2 separate regions of the Homo sapiens genome follow, and region 1 is linked to region 2. Evidence: promoter capture Hi-C in 16 types of primary human blood cells and fetal thymus (Javierre and others, 2016). All regions are on one chromosome and are shown on one strand. The core of a region is centred on a gene start or on the middle of the fragment in contact, and the rest is flanking DNA. Distances in the headings are between cores, read along the strand shown. Region 1 overlaps GCK (glucokinase). Region 2 holds the start of AEBP1 (AE binding protein 1).

Region 1 (4,092 bases), core at 1,108-3,607, 56 kb after region 2:
CTTATTCTGAAGGGAGGTGGGAGGGGCTGAGGAGAGGAACAGAAGGGCCTGGGAAGAAGAGGTTCCATCTGACCTGGGAGTTGGGTTGTGGGAGTTGGGATCTTGGTCTGGGCATGTTAACACATCTGCCAGCCAAGGGGCGATTTGTTCCAAGTAGCAGTTGGCCATGTGAGGCCCGAGTTCAGAGGAGAGTCTGGCTGGAGAGGTAGATGTGGAGCCATCAGTACAGAGACAGTCCTTAAGGCCACTGGCCTGGACATGGTCACCAGGGTGTACAGGTTGGATAGCAGTGGGAGAGGCGGAGCTGGTCAGGCAGGGCTGCCAGGGGCAGGATGCTGTCCCTTTTATGCAGTGAGCAGTGCTTTGTGACCCCACCTCCAGAACGCAGTAAAAAAGGCAGGATGCCTTCTAGTGCCGCCTTTGGCAGATGTGGACTGAGGAACTGTCTATTCCAGCACTGGGAGGGGCCGGCTGGTGGAGCTGTGGGTCCCTGAGGAAATGGCCAAGGGCCAGGGCAGTCCCTGGGCAGATGCTGCAGGCCTGGGGGCTCCAGAGCCCATCCGAGTGCCAGATGTCCAGCTGTAGCCTGGCCCCCTCCATTCCTGGGCCCTCAGGTGGCTATGTACACAGAAGTGAGTGGCCTTGGGCTAGTGCCCACATTCTCCTGAGGGACAGAATCCCTGATCCACCAACCCCTGGAAATGCCATGCAGAGCCCCCAGAGAGCCAGACAGCCCTGGGCAGCCAGCCAGCTCCCCCCATAAAAGCCCCAGGCCAGGCCCCGGACACTGGTGTCCTGGGTCACCGTTAGCTCCAGGAATAAGTACCCTAGAACCCCTCGAGAGGCTGGACACTGGATAGCCACAGTGAGGAGGGGTGGTGGGCAGAGGGCCAGTGGCAGGCACAGCTGCCCTAGCCAGGACCCCCAAGGCCCATGTGCCTCCTTCCAAGGTGCCCCAAGCCTGCTCGCCTTCCCTGCCCCCAGCCTTAGTTTTGGTAATCTGCAAAACCAAGGGCCCTGCCCTGGGTGCTGCTCTCCCAGTGCAAAGTCCCTAACTTTGGTGTGACCCTTACCAGAGTCAAGGCTGTCTGGGCCTGGCTCCTTGTGACATCCATCGCCATCTCTCCGAGGGGCTAAGAGGTAGATGCTTTGGGAGGCAGAGATGCTCCTGCCTGCTGAGGCCTAGCACATGCTGTAGCCTTGGAGCGTAAGGCCCGCCTGTGGCAGCAACGGCTGCTTGGATGGAGAGCTGCCTGAGGCTGGCAGCCCAGGGCTTCTGCACTGAAAGGGCTCAGCCTGGCGGCTGCTCAAATACTCTGCCCCCTGCCATGGGGTCAGAGGCAGGGCAGAAAGGGAGGGTAGGCCATGTGGGTAACAGTTGACAGGGCCACGGGGACAGAGCCATGGGGCAGCCGGCCACACTCTGTGAACATGGGGTAGGGATTGCTGCCCAGCAGGAGGGGGTGTGCAGAGCCAGCCTACCCATCTTCCATTCCTCAGCCTTGTGCGGGCAGAAAGTCACCAGGCTGCCTTGGCCACAGAACACTTACTGAAATGCCCTTGGACAGGGAGGGGGTCCTAAGGGGGCCTGGCCCGCGCTGGTGCAGGTCTGGACTTGCTCTTGGAGGCAAGGGGATCCCCAGTGGATTTTCATCTGCAGAGAGGTTCGATTTGCATTTCATACAATCCAGGGGTCTGTATGGAACTTGGGGAAGGGGTGGTGGAGGAAGGTGGCCAACTGATCAAAAACAAACAAAAAACAGGGGTATCATTCTTAATTTTGTGACTGCAAAGTCCAGGCCTCAGGCTTGCTTTGGGTGCCTCCATGGGCATAGACCATGACTTCCAGGCTCTGGCCCAGGCCTCTCCTTGGGCTCACCTGGGAGTGACATCCACATGCTATGTACTTGCTGGCACCTGCCAAAGCCTGCTAAAATTAGCTGGAGCTGGCAAGTGGGTCAGGGTATGGAGGGTGCCTTGTCAGAATGCCAGGTCTCTCGCCAATGGCCAGAGTGATCACTCCCAAGAAAGCCCTTGATACAATTGATCCCTTTCCCAATATAGAGCAGAGATGGCCTCATCAGATCTCATGTGACAGGCCACTGACCCCCACAGCCCCCAGCTCTGAGCTACTGTTTGCTCATGGGGGCAGGGCTCACACCCAGGTTTGGAGTGGCACTGGGGCCTTCTGGTTCAGCCAGGCCAAGAAGCAGCCACCCAGCGAGACTTGCCCTTCTTCTGGGCCAAGCACACAGCACAGGGGAGGAGAATCTAAATTCAGTTCTCAAGAAAGGCTGAGGATGTGTACAAAGCCTGAAGCTGAGGCAAGTGGGCCCCCTTTCTTGGTTGACTGAACTGCCAGTGCCCTCTCTAGCCTCTATTTAGAGCAACAGGCATCCCCTAGAGTTCCTTTCTGGGAGCCACCTGCTGATATTCATTGGCATCCATGAGGCCAGAAAGCGGCCCAACACCCCTACTTCCCCACACCGTCTAATTCTCCGGGACCAGATTCTCATGACTCATGCCAGCCCTCCTGGGCACCCACCCTTGTCCTGTCTCAGTGCCTCTTCTTCAGGATAAGGGGTGACACCAACAGTCTGTACTGCACTGGAGTTGAGAGTCATTGTAGCAGGAACAGTTCCTGCTTTCCAGGAATTTTGGAAGGGCAAGACTGTCCAGAACCTGTCCAGAGAAGAGGGGCCAAGAAGGGGAGGGCCTCAGAGATGATGGCTCATGGAGGATGACCAGGACATGCTTAGAGTCTTCAGTAGCTCAAGGGCTGTCCCGAGGAGGATGGATGAACATTGTTTCTGCTTAGAGCTTTCTAAAAAGACAGAACTGTGCAGCTGTGGGCTAGGATGTCTCAGTAGATAGTGAACTCCCCATTTCATGGGGAGAGAAAGACAAGAGCAGAATCAGAAGGGACCTTGCTCTATGTCCCAGTGGTACCCCCATTTCTTAGTTGCTCAGGGTTCTGATTGACAGACATGACTTGATTTTCTTTTTCATTCATCAAAAGAAAATAATATGACAAGTTTGGTGATGGATATTCAAGATGATTAATTCTACTATCAAAAAACGAGACACAACCCACATACCCAACTACAGGAGGTTGGTTAAATAAATTATGCTACACTTACATGTAGTCATTAAAAATGGTAAGATTCATCTGCTCTATTGGCATGGAAAGATGTTCATGACATACTGTTGAAAGGGAATGTGTAGCCGCCCTTGAAGCTGGCCTTCAATTAGCCCTGCTTCTGGTATTCACCCCATGGTATAGTCTCTTCCATGCAGAATAGGTCTAGCCTGTGTAACTAATATGATAATGCAGAAATGGTGGAGTATGACTTTGGAGCCTAAGCCAGAAAAGACCCTGTGGTTTCTGCCTTGTTCTCTCCTGGACTGTTCCCTCTGGGGGAAGCCAACTGCTATGCTATGAGGTTGCCTACAAGAACTCTGGGAAGATCCATTGAGAAGAAGCGAAGTCTCTTGCCAATACGCAACTCCAACTTGCCAGCCATGTGAGTGGACCACTTTGGAAGCAGCTCCTCTGGCCCCAGTCAAGCCTTCAGGTGATGCAGCCCCAGCCAAAACCCTGACCTCAGGAGAGACACCAAGCCAGACCACCCAGCTAAGCTGCTTCTGAATTCTTGACCTACAGAAACTGTGTGAGATAACAAAGGTTTGTTGTTTCAAGCTACTATGGTTTTTTTTAAAAACACTTTATGAAATAAAATTTTGTTATTACAGAACAAATAAGTTTAGAAACCATTTTCTATCTTTTAGCATATGATCCAGATATAAGACAGTGTCATACCACATTCTTGTCATCATAATACACGGAAAGGTGAAGCCACTAAGTTTTGAGGCAGTTTGTTATACAGCAATAGATGACTAACACAGGGGAAGAACAGGAAACATAGTATGATCCATTTTTGTCGTATATACGATATAGATAATATATGTATTGGGAGGAAATATACCAAAATGGTGACAGTAATTATCTTGATGATGGTGGTATGAGGATTTTAATTTATTTTCCTTTTTGCTTATCTGTATTTCCTACCTTTTCTGCAGTAAATGGGTATT
Region 2 (3,770 bases), core at 868-3,367:
GGTGTCAGAGGGCCCCCAACATCATGGCCCTCCTTGTGGCCCAGCTCTCCATGAGAGCTTTTGCACATGTTTTTGTTGGTGACTCGCTGTGACTGAAGAAAAGCCTCCTTCTGTTCCTTTTTTGTTTTCTTATGGCTTCTATTTTCCCTGGCAGAGGATGTTGGACCCAAATCCAATCCATGTGTGAGTTGTTCCCAGGGAAGTGACGTGCCACGCTGCTTCACCCCAGCCTTGGGCCGCCGGGCTTGACATGCTCAACTGGGGCAACGGAGCAAATTCCCAGAACAAGTTTTGAGAAAGATGATTCAGAGCTTTGCAGAGGATGAGGAAAGGGGAGAGCTTGCGGATCCTTGCTGCCACCAGGACTGGCCTGGGGGCACGTGGCAGGCAGAGGCAGGCTCAGGTGCACAGGGAGCCTGGGTGTTGGGGCTCAGGGTCTGCTCTGAGCGCCCCAGTGGGCACAGCTCAGGTTGATCTCTGAGGGCAAATGATGAGAGCTAAAAGGCAGCAGTGTGAGTGCCAAGAATGTGTGCTAGGCACAGCACATGCATGATCCTGTATGAACGACAAGGAGAACAGGGACACAGGTGGACGGCACTGAGGCTACCTGCCGAGATGTGGTGCCTGGGAGGTAGAGCCAGAACCTGACACAGTCCCACTGCTTTTTCAAGGAGATGCAGTGAGAAAGCAAAGGCAGGGTCTTGGCAGGACCAGGTGTGAGAGGAGGCAAGGCCTCCTTGTGGTCCTGCTCCCAGGGGGTGGCATGTATCCCAGGCCCAGCAGCCTCCACTGTGGCCTCCCCGGCTGCTGCCTGCTCCAACTCACTCGGGGCTGCTCTGGGGACCCAGGTGCTTCCTGACCCACTTTTCCTCTTTCCTTTTGACCCCAGGTCCAAACTCTGCCCTGTCAATCATCCCAGGGGCTCCTAGGCTTCCCTACCTGACTACTTCACTGGGGCCAAACCCCGCAGACAATCGTGGCTTAGGGCTGTCTGCCTCTGCACTTGGCCCATGGACTACCTGTGAGCTTTCTCTTGTGTCCTCATTCCTTTAAGGGGGAATGTCCTCGGAGCTCTGTCCTTAGCTCCCCATTCCTCCAGTATGAGACAGGGACTAGGCTTGAGTCACGGGGGACTGTGCTGTGTCACGCCCTGCCATACTAATGGGACCACTCTGCCTGTTGATGGCCGTTGTAGGGCAGCCAACATTTGCCCTGGAGAAGCCTTATGGCAAACACCAGGCACCAAGGTGCACATCCCTGATGGATCCTGGGATCAGTTGACACTCAATCCACCTGCCTTCTGGGTCCTCTGGGCCCTCTGGGTCCATGTGGCAGCTGGAGGTATGGTAGACACTTTTTAAAAAATGAGTTCTGGTAAGAAGAAGGTGATAAATGGCTATTTGTCCACGTTGGGACCCGGAGGGGAGGGATGGCATGCCCTTACATGGGACTCCTACCCCCAGCGGGGCAGCTGGCCACTCTGAGGGCAGTTTTGCACCTGCCTCCTGGCTGGAAAGTGAGTTCCCACTGTGCTGTCCCTCCCTGGGGCCCAGCACGGGGCCCGGCCCCACACCGACCTGAAGAGGTTGGTAGGATGACTGAATGAATTGACGCTGGGATGCAGCAGGGCCCATGGGCAGAGGCTCCAGAGCCTGGGAAGGATGGGGTGGCCTTTCTGTGGCCCTCCGAATTGAGAGAGGTCTCAGAGGCCTGACACCACGGCTTTCCGTCCAGGGTTCCTGGTCACCCGCGGAGGGCTCAGAGCCCCGGTGGACTCGGGGTCCCGCCTTAAGGGGGGTGCCTAGGGCAGAAGGAGGAGGGATGTCGGCCCCCTCAGACCCGCACCCCAGGCCCTCCCCACCACCTTTCCTTCCCTCAGGCCCTCTGTCTTCCCAGTCGCCCCGCCCCCTGCCCCTCTGTCCTAGGCGCAAGTCTCCGGGCTTGGGACGCTCGCCGCCAGCGCCCGCCCGCCTGCCCCGCCCCTAGCCCCCCGCCCCCCGCCCCCCGCCCCCCCGCAGCCCCTCCGTCCACTCTCGGCTCCTCCTTCTCTTCCTCCTCCTCCTCCCCGGGGGTGGGGAGCCGGCTCCGGAAGCCCCGGCGCCCCCGCCCCGGGCCCCGCCAGCGCTTTGGAGACGGCTATCCGCGCGGGAGTGCGCCACGCGGGGCCGGAGCGCCTATTAGCCGCCAGGACCTCGGAGCGCCCCGACCACCCCTGAGCCCCTCTGGCTTCGGAGCCCCCCAGCACCCCTTCCCGGGTCCCCTCGCCCACCCTAATCCACTCTCCCTCCCTTTCCCGGATTCCCTCGCTCACCCCATCCTCTCTCCCGCCCCTTCCTGGATTCCCTCACCCGTCTCGATCCCCTCTCCGCCCTTTCCCAGAGACCCAGAGCCCCTGACCCCCCGCGCCCTCCCCGGAGCCCCCCGCGCGTGCCGCGGCCATGGCGGCCGTGCGCGGGGCGCCCCTGCTCAGCTGCCTCCTGGCGTTGCTGGCCCTGTGCCCTGGAGGGCGCCCGCAGACGGTGCTGACCGACGACGAGATCGAGGAGTTCCTCGAGGGCTTCCTGTCAGAGCTAGAACCTGAGCCCCGGGAGGACGACGTGGAGGCCCCGCCGCCTCCCGAGCCCACCCCGCGGGTCCGAAAAGCCCAGGCGGGGGGCAAGCCAGGGAAGCGGCCAGGGACGGCCGCAGAAGGTAAGAGCCCAGGGCAGGGCGGGGGTGTGGGGGGCTGGCATCTCAGGTGGGAACAGGGGGATTCGGTAGGGTCTGGCCACTCCCCAGTCTGCTAGGGGAGGAATGGCTGGCTTACTAATGCGCACGCGAGCCCAGATGCCTGGAGGGACCCTGTGCTAGGCCGAGGTCAGCGCTGGCGTGGAGGCACATCCAGCACCCGGGCGGCAGGGCCGCTTTTGGGGGCCGGTGGCTCTAGGGTTGGTGCTGTGGTTGTACGGGTCGCTTATCCCCATTCCTCCAGTACGCGACAGGTACTAGGCTTGAGCCACAGGGGACTGTGCTGTGTCACCCCCTGCCATACTAATGGGACCACTCTCCCTGTTGGTGGCACAGCTTCACGTCGTCCCTCCCTCCTGCCTTTGCCCTCCTACTCCAGGAGGTCTCACGTAGGTGAGAGAGTTTCAGGTGGTGGTGAGCACAGGGCTTCAGGTGGTGGTGAGCAATGGGTGGTCCTACATTAGTACAGGAAATTAGATGAGGTGATGCATCACTGAAGCATTTAACCCACGGCCTCTTGCATAATCAGTTGTCAGTAAATCTTAGCTGTTTTCATCGTGGCCCTCTGGAAGGTGGCAGAGGGTCTTGTGATCCCTGTCTCCCAGGAGATTCCAAGGCACCATCCAACATTCCTGATGTCAGCAGCCCCTCCCCTGCCACCCCAGCTCTAGATCTTTCCTGGCTGCTTCCCACACCCTGGGCTGCCTGTGCCCCTCCTGCCTCTGGCTCTCCTTCCAGGCTTGCTCTCCTGGCTCTGGGGCACCGCTCTAGCAGCCCTGCGTCCCCTGGCTGTCTGCATTTGGTAGCTTTCCTGTGTTTCTGCCAAACTTCCCTCATGCTCCCCACCTCTCATCAGGTTCTCAACAGCACTTGCAGCTCCTGCTTAGGGTCCTGGGAGGATTCCCATGGGGAATCCTCACAACCAGTCCCTGCTCCCTCTCCCAGACTCTGAAATGAGTGTGCAGCCACAAGCTCCCTACCTGTCTTTTCTGTCCTCTGTGTGATCCCTGAACCCCCCAGGACTCCCTATCCTTCCAATCAAT

The links. Contacts are between HindIII fragments. The CHiCAGO score rates a contact against its expected background, and 5 or more counts as called.
Region 1: a contact is called between a fragment that was not itself captured here and the fragment with the promoter of AEBP1 in region 2, in 2 of 17 cell types (M1 macrophages and endothelial precursors). The highest score is 6.2, in M1 macrophages.

Annotation. Positions count from the first base shown.
Region 1 is chr7:44,158,000-44,162,091 of GRCh38, forward strand. All of the region lies in intron 1 of GCK (glucokinase), which reads right to left. Among named protein-coding and RNA genes, the nearest start is that of MYL7, 19 kb to the left of the region's middle. The HindIII fragment of the contact is 6,327 bases long and covers 1-4,092 here.
Region 2 is chr7:44,102,228-44,105,997 of GRCh38, forward strand. AEBP1 (AE binding protein 1) reads left to right here and starts at 2,118. Exons shown (of 21, transcript NM_001129.5): 1 at 2,118-2,691. The coding sequence starts at 2,439. The HindIII fragment of the contact is 6,426 bases long and covers 1-3,770 here.